Linked DNA regions of Homo sapiens: region 2 is linked to region 1. Evidence: promoter capture Hi-C in human tissues and cell types (Jung and others, 2019). All regions are on one chromosome and are shown on one strand. The core of a region is centred on a gene start or on the middle of the fragment in contact, and the rest is flanking DNA. Distances in the headings are between cores, read along the strand shown. Region 1 holds the start of HIGD1B (HIG1 hypoxia inducible domain family member 1B). Region 2 overlaps DCAKD (dephospho-CoA kinase domain containing).

The links. Contacts are between HindIII fragments. The study calls those that stand out against the background at their distance.
Region 2: a fragment that was not itself captured here is called in contact with the fragment with the promoter of HIGD1B in region 1 in 1 of the 25 tissues and cell types used here (heart right ventricle).

Annotation. Positions count from the first base shown.
Region 1 is chr17:44,845,448-44,849,727 of GRCh38, forward strand. It overlaps HIGD1B (HIG1 hypoxia inducible domain family member 1B), which reads left to right and starts at 2,436. Exons shown (of 3, transcript NM_016438.4): 1 at 2,436-2,805; 2 at 3,807-3,941. The coding sequence starts at 2,706. The HindIII fragment of the contact is 5,766 bases long and covers 1-4,170 here.
Region 2 is chr17:45,027,203-45,031,376 of GRCh38, forward strand. DCAKD (dephospho-CoA kinase domain containing) reads right to left here. Exons shown (of 5, transcript NM_001288655.2): 4 at 2,890-2,977. Among named protein-coding and RNA genes, the nearest start is that of DCAKD, 22 kb to the right of the region's middle. RefSeq lists an enhancer at 3,305-3,354. The HindIII fragment of the contact is 7,935 bases long and covers 1-4,174 here.

The DNA of each region.
Region 1 (4,280 bases), core at 1,186-3,685:
ATGGTAAAACTGTCTCTACCAAAAATACAAAAATGAGCCAAGTGTGGTGGTATGTGCCCGTGGTCCCAGCTATTTAGGAGGCTGAGATGGGAGGGTTGCTTGAGCCTGGGAGTATGAGGCTGCAGTGAGCCAAGATCACACAGCCTGGGTGACAGAGGGAGACCCCATCTCAAAAACAAAACAAAACAAAAAACCCCAAAAACTAGCTGGGTGTGGTGGCTCATGCTTGTAATCCCAGCACTTTGGGAGGCTGAGCCGGGTGGATCACAAGGTCAGGATTTCGAGACCAGCCCGGCCAACATGGTGAAACCCCGCCTCTACTAAAAATAAAAAAATTAGCTGGGTATGGTGGCACATGCCTGTAATCCCAGCTACTCGGGAGGCTGAGGCAGGAGAATCACTTGAACCTGGGAGCGGAGGTTACAGTGAGCCGAGATCGTGCCACTGCACTCCAGCCTAGGTGACAGAGCAAGACTCCATCTCGGAAAAAAAAAAAAATCCCAAACCAAAAGACAGCCTAGAGAGTCTGTCTCTCACAACTAGGGTATTTTATTTACATCCCACATTGTTCATAAGAGTATCCGAGGGAGTGTAACTTGGGGGACCCAGGCTTTCTACTCATCCTTGTTCCTGTATCTCCATCTCCGTTCTCCTCATCAAGCCTGTCTCTGATCCAGCCACTTAATTCCATGGGAATTAAAAGACTGAATCTAGTTAGGGGCTCCCCTCCATTTGGTCTTTCCTTACTTTCCAGTGCCTGGAGCTTTGGCTTGGGACTCAGCAGACTGGGGGTTAAGACCGATCCCCTGTCCTTTCCCCTCCCCTCTCCATCCCTGACTTCAAAGTTTTCATAAAGCCCAAGTCACTGCTTCCCTGACCCCATAGTGGCAGCTCCATCTCAGCTTTTGGTCGGTTCAAAACAGCAGACGCTGAGCCCTGGCCTGGCCGCCCGTTCTCCTCGTTCTAGCCATCTCTTAGGGTAAGCACCAGCATGCCAACGACCTGGGGGGCCACCAGTCCTTGCTCCTCCAGGAGAGGAGGGCTAACTAGGATAGAAGCTGACTCAAGGGCAGGCACAGTGGTTCATGCCTGTAATCCCAGAACTTTGGGAGGCTGAGGTGGGCAGATCGCCTGAGACCAGGAGTTCAAGATTGGCTGGGCGACATGGCAAAACTGTCTCTACAAAAAATACAAAAATTAGCTGAGCGTGGTAGCATGCACCTGTAGTCCCAGCTACTTGAGAGGCTGAGGTGGAAGGACTGCTTGAGTCTGGAGGGTCAAGCTTGCAGGGATTGACACTGCACTCCAGCCTGAGTGACAAAGTGAGACCCTGCCTAAAAAAAAAAAAAAAGAAGAAAAAGAAAAGAGAGTTTGCCGTATGGTTAGGCTTAGAAGGTATCCCATTGGACAGGGCACGGTGGCTCATACCTGTAATCCCTGCACTTTGGGAAGCCGAGGTGGGCGGATCAAGAGGTCAGGAGTTCAAGACCAGCCTGGCTATCAGGGTAAGACCCCGTCTCTACTAAAAAAATACAAAAAATTAGCTGGGCATGGTACACACCTGTAATCCCAGCTACTTGGGAGGCTGAGGCAGAATTGCTTCAACCAGGACCTGGGAGGCGGAGGTTGCAGTGAGCCGAGATGGCACCACTGCACTCCAGCCTGGGCTACAGAGCGAAACTCCGTCTCAAAAAAACAAAAAAGGGCCGGGCGCGGTGGCTCACGCCTGTAATCCCAGCACTTTGGGAGGCCGAGGCAGGTGGATCATGAGGTCAGGAGATCGAGACCATCCTGGCTAACAAGGTGAAACCCCGTCTCTACTAAAAATACAAAAAATTAGCCGGGCGCGGTGGCGGGCGCCTGTAGTCCCAGCTACTCGGGAGGCTGAGGCAGGAGAATGGCGTGAACCCGGGAAGCGGAGCTTGCAGTGAGCCGAGATTGCGCCACTGCAGTCCGCAGTCCGGCCTGGGCGACAGAGCGAGACTCCGTCTCAAAAAGAAGGCATCCCATTGGCAGAACCCTTGTTTCCAGCCCAGGGATGAAGGTAGCCAGTTGGTAATTGTGAAGAACCTGCCTGGAAAGAGATGGACCTGGAAAAACAGGAGCAGCTCAGGAACCAGAATGTGTTCCTTAGTACTCATGTGCAAAATATATGCTAAATTACATGCAAATCAATGTCCAATCATTATAATCTCTGGCAATTTGGTAACTAATGCTGTTACACTATCTGGTCTAGGACATTTCTGGCTCCCTGGGGCCAGATCCTGCTCTGTAGCTCCCACAGGAGAAACCATCACAGACCAAAGGCCAGCGGGGGCCCCAGCACTCAAGGACTGTTTCTCCCACCACCATCTGTGGACTTTTCCAGCTGTTTTTCTTGGCCCAAGGATCACACCCATAGGGATGCAGATGGGGGAAGGGGAAGCTGAGAAAGCAGTGAAGACAGAATGAGCTGGGGAAGAGGCAGATGGTAGGAAATGGAGACGGAGAAATGGCACTAATGGCCCAGCCACCTGAGATGGGATACCTGGGAGGGACATCTTTTCAAGTAGAGGCTGTGTTGGGGCATGGTGAGAGAGGGTCTTAGCAGGTAACCTTCCTTTCCTCTCCAGACTGAGGAATCAGAGTTCTGATTGTGGAGTGCCTCTCTCTAGGACGGGGCTGCAGCATAGGAGTCTCAGCTGCTTACATCCAGGTCCAGGATTATGTCTGCTAACAGACGCTGGTGGGTACCACCTGACGACGAAGACTGTGTGTCTGAGAAGCTCCTGAGGAAGACTCGGGAATCTCCACTGGTGCCTATAGGTAAGTGAAGAAAGGAATGGGGTGCCGAGTAGGAGGCCTTCTCTGTCATGTCTCCTGGTACCCTCCAAAGAGAATGAAGCAGAGGTCAGAAAACTCAAGTGGTCCTACTCACGGAACAAGGGAAACAACAGCAAAGGTGCCAAGGGGCAAACCCTTACAATGAAATCAGGACGTCTGGATGGGTGGAGGTGGCAGCCAACTGAGTACATGGGATATGAGGAACCTGGAGCACCAACACCAAAGTGGGAAGGGTCAGAAGAACACCTTGGGGTCCCCCAGGGCTTCCTTCCTTATGGCCCTGGTAGAGTAGGAAAACAGCTGTACCAGGAGGTGGGAGCCAGCAGTGTGGCTCAAGGGCCCAGGGCGGAGCAAATTGGTGGGGAGGGGCTGTGTCGTGGTGATCAGCTATTTGTATCTGGGGGAGGGGCATCACTGGTGGTGATCAGCTATTTGTATATGGGGGAGGGGTGTCACGGGAGGGAGGCAGCCACTTTGAAAATGCCATTGAAGGGCAACAACTCAATATATATATATATATTTTTGAGATGGAGTTTCACTCGTTGCCCAGGCTGGAGTGCAATGGCACAGTCTCGGTTCACCACAACCCCTGCCTCCTGGGTTCAAGTGGTTCTCCTGCATCAGCCTCCTGAGTAGTTGGGATTATAGGCATGCACCACCACGCCCGGCTAATTTTGTACTTTTAGTAGAGACTGGGTTTCTCCATTTTGGTCAGGCTGGTCTCAAACTCCCAACTTCAGGTGATCCACCTGCCTCAGTCTCCCAAAAGTGCTGGGATTACAGGCGTGAGCCACCATGCCCCGGCAACAACTCAATATTCTAATGATCCCCCTAGGTCCCCCGCAACGCCCACCCCCCGCCACCAGATGCTGCATAAAACCAGCTGTTTATCCAGATGCCCAGCCTGCCTGGTAAGGTATCTCTCATCAGGGGAGTGCTGTGCATTGTGGCTGTGGCCCAGGGGCTGTGTTCTCTGCCCACAGGCTTAGGAGGCTGCTTGGTGGTAGCAGCATACAGGATTTACCGGCTGAGGTCTCGTGGTTCCACCAAGATGTCCATACACCTGATTCACACCCGAGTGGCAGCGCAGGCCTGTGCAGTGGGTGCAATCATGCTAGGTGAGTAGCTTTGTGGGGTCGCAGAATGAGGGCAAAACCGATTATGCAGTTTGTAGGTCTTTAAGTCCCAACAATTAAAAGGACTGTGCTTGGCTGGGCGCGGTGGTTCACGCCTGTAATCTCAACACTTTGGGAGGCCAAGGCGGGCAGATCATGAGGTCTGGAGAGAGAGACCATCCTGGCCAACATGGTGAAACCCCATATCTACTAAAAATACAAAAATTAGCTGGGCGTGGCGGCAGGTGCCTTTAGTCCCAGCTACTCTGGAGGCTTCGGCAGGAGAATTGCTTGAACCTGGGAGGCGGAGGCTACAGTGGGCTGAGATCCGCCACTGCACTC
Region 2 (4,174 bases), core at 1,017-3,516, 180 kb after region 1:
TGATGCTGCATGCCTGCAATCCCAGCTACTCAAGAGGCTGAGGTGGAAGACTGCTTGAGCCCAGGAGTTTGAGGCTATAGTTAGCTGTGATTGTGCCACTGCACTCTAGCCTGAGCCCTGTCTCAAAAAAAAGAAACCAGCATGAAATCATGTTTTGGTATAATCACACTTCAGGAGATGTCCTAAGTAATTTCAAATGCACCAGGGGTAGTCTTTCAGTTAAAGAAATCCACAAGGGAGTCCTTATTTTTGTAAAGCCTAGATCCCTTTGGTGAAAAGCATCACCACCTCTCTGGCATCTCTCAAGAGTTATACACCCACACCCACTGAAAGCAGGGCATGAGTGGCACCCAGGACTCTGGCAAAGGCTCCTCTGGCCGGTGAGTGGGGCTGAAGGTCTCCTGGAGAGCACACACAATCAACAAAGCCCCACTCACCCACCAAAACCCATGGCCACCTCTGCTCTCGGCAAACAGACCAACCTCAAAGAACAGCACAGGAAGGGCCGGGCGCAGTGGCTCATGCCTGTAATCCCAGCACTTTGGGAGGCCGAGACAGGTAGATCACAAGGTCAGGAGTTCAAGACCAGCCTGACCAACATGGTGAAACCCTGTCTCTACTAAAAATACAAAACTTAGCCGGGCATGGTGGCGTGCGCCTGTAATCCCAGCTAATCAGGAGGCTGAGGCAGGAGAATCACTTGAACCTGGGAGGCAGAGGTTGCAGTGAGCTGAGATCGCGCCACTGTACTCCACCTTGGGTGACAGAGTGAGACTCCATCTCAATTTAAAAAAAAAAAAAAAAAGCAAAGCACAGGAAGGACAAATGGCCAGAGGTGGGCGCGGGGTCATCTGGTGAATGCACATGCAGGTGTCGGCCCCTGCTGTCTTCTCATCTACACTCTAAGATCCTTTTTTTTTTTTTGAGATGGAGTCTCGCTCTGTCGCCCAGGCTGGAGTGCAGTGGTGCGATCTCAGCTCACTCCAAGCTCCGCCTCCCAGGTTCACACCATTCTCCTGTCTCAGCCTCCCGAGTAGCTGGGACTACAGGCGCCCACCATGATGCCCAGCTAATTTTTTTTGTATTTTTAGTAGAGACAGGGTTTAACCGTGTTAGCCAGGATGGTCGCGATCTTCTGACCTCATGATCCGCCCACCTCGGCCTCCCAAAGTGCTGGGATTACAGGTATGAGCCACCACACCCGGCCTTTTTTTTTTTTTTTTTGAGACGGAGTTTCATTCTTGTTGCCCAGGCTGGAGTGCAATGGTACGATCTTGGCTCATTGCAACCTCTGCCTCCTGGGTTCAAGTGATTCTCCTGCCTCAGCCTCCCAAGTAGCTGGGATTACAGGCATGCACCACCATGCCTGGCTAATTTTTGTATTTTTAGTAGAGATGGGGTTTCTCCATGTTGGTCATGCCGCTCTCGAACTCCTGACCTCAGGTGATCCACCTGCCTCGGCCTCCCAAAGTGCTGGGATTATAGGCATGAGCCACTGCACCCAGCCTTTTTTTTGAGATGGAGTTTTGCTCACTCTTGTCGCCCAGGCTGGAGTGCAATGGTGCAATCTCTGCTCACTGCAACTTCCACCTCCTGGGTTCAAGCGATTCTCTGGCCTCAGCCTCCCAAGCGGCTGAGATTACAGGTGCCCGCCACAACACCGGGCTAGTTTTTATATTTTTAGTAGAGATGGGGTTTCACCATGTTGGCCAGGCTGGTCTCGAACTCCTGACCTCAGGTAATCCACCCACCTCGGCCTCCCAAAGTGCTGGGATTACAGGCGTGAGCCACTGCACCCGGCCTCTAAGATCCTTTAAAAAAAATGTTTTTATCCCTAAATACAAAGCTCCAATCGTGCTACTAAGGCAAAGAGAATTCCAGGTCTTCGTGGGGTTTGCCTGACCTTAGTTAGCCTCTCAAACAGGGAATGAAGAACCCAAAGAGGCTGCAGGTTTACTCACATAAGGCAGCACGGCCCAGTGCAGGAGCTGAGAGGATGCCTGCGTCCCTGCATTGGGCTCAAGGGATTCAGACTGGGCTTTCAACGACAGCCCATGGGGACCCAGGGGGAAAGGCAGGGGGATTTTCAGGGCACTGAGCACCACAGGCTCCGCCTCCAGCGTGCTGGGAGCCTCCAATGCCTTAGGCCCTTGAGGGCCAACCTATGCCCAAAATACCAGCAGAGCCAAGTGCCCACCTATGTGTCTGCTGTACTTGTGGGTGGCATCCGGGAAGCTTCTGGGTAGCAGAGATACCCTGCGGACTCATCTACTTTCACCCCACTGGGACAGGGACTCATTTTCCCCCCACAGGTTGATCCTCCTGTTTGTCAAACCTGGATTCTGGTTGGCTCCGTGTCCTGGGGAATTCTGAGAACAAAGTGCCTTCCTTAGCTGGGCTGACAGTCCCTTCCACGAAACCTTCTGTTCGTAACAGGTGTTGCCAAAGGGTGACCCTGGACACATTCTGTAACTGCCCCCTCTTTAATTTTATCTTCAGTAATAGGAATATCAACACCTGTCCTGACCACCTCCCACTGAGAGGTAAACTGTGCAAAGTAATAAAGGTGCTACAGGAGGAAGAAGGAGCCACTGAGTAACAGTGGCCCAGGGCGAGGCCAGGCATCTGGGCTGAAGTGCCTGCAATGGTCAGCGGGGGAGCGCTCCCCAAACACTAGAGAAGCCCGCGGGCTGTCCCTTCCCACACCTGCCCCCAGGACTATCCGCGTCAGGCACAAAGGTTGGTTTCTACAGACCCTGAGCACTGCTGCCCAAACCCCCATGCCTCTTGGCCGCCCCGTGGGGAAAGGGCAAAGTGCAAAATGATGTGGGCTGTTTCCCAGATACCCCCATGGTCCTCCCTTCCAGCCAGGGCATGCTACACACTCACCAGTATACTACCACGGTGTGCTTCATGTACTTGAGCAACTTCTTGGTCTCAAACAGCAGGGGGATATCCAGAATCACGTAGCGGTATCCTGGGGAGAGGTTGGAAATCCCCCAAGTTCAATTCTGCAAGCGCACACTGAGGACTGATGATATGCTGGGCCCCACCGTCCAGAGCGCCCAGCAGAGGGGCAGGCCTTCCAAGGACACACATACCCTGCACACTGGCCGGTTCCAATGCCGTGCAGAACAGAAGGCTGCAGAAAATTATTTCTGGATAGCTGATCAGGGAAGACCTTGTAGAAGGGCTGGCACTTGTGCTGGCCTTGAAAAGTGGGGGGCAGGTCTTTTGATACTTGAAAATGAGAAGGTGAAGGTGAGGATTCCACGAATGAGAACCACCACAGCACAGGGAGAGGGAGGCTCTACTGTGCGGGCTGAAGCAGAGGCCTCAGGCCGTGTGAGGCAAGGAGGTGATCAGGGCAGGCACTAAGGGTTTAGTTCACCTTGATCTTAAATCTCAAGTTGTTATTTCTCAGAAACAAACAAACAAACAAACAAAACACCCAAAAGATAGGTTCTCCCCAAAGAGCCAGGTGCAGGCCCAGCCCTGCTGACAAGAGCCAAGGTGGGCTGTCTCTACCAACTCTCCATGAGAGGCTCACGTTGGGGCGGCAGCAGCAGAAAGAAGCTGCTTCTCCCATCAGAGGCAGACCTACAGCCAGGGTAAGGCCTGGATCTGGAGTCAGAGCGGGCAGTTATGCCTAAAACTGTATTACACTCCTGCAGTGTAAAAGGCACTGGCTGGACCTCCCACCACAAGCCAAGGCCAGTCAAGGGCAGCACCCCCACCCACTGTGAGTGAGCACATCCGTAGGCTGCTGTGGGCTACACGCTCCTCGTTCTTTTTAGGTCAGTGACCCCTGTGCATGTGTACAAAGCTGGGAGGGCTCCAGGAGAGCAAGAAGGGTAAGAGATAGGAAAATGCTTCTCTGCCCAGAGACCCCTGGCCTGGCTGGGGCAGGAGACTGCACCCCTGGAGCATCCCACTCCAAACACTTCCAAGCACAGAACCAGACACACATCACACCAATTCCAAGGGTGTCACGGGAAACTTGCACTCAAAGTGATGCAGGGACAATGGCGGTGGGGGGGTGGCAATCTCAGCTGCTTGGTTTCCTGTTCCCCAAGACCTGCTGCTCAGGAAGCCCAAGAGAAGCCCACAGTTGAACAAGGGGGTTAAAACCATAGGCTCTGATGACACACCTTGGTTGGTAGCCCCCCCACCT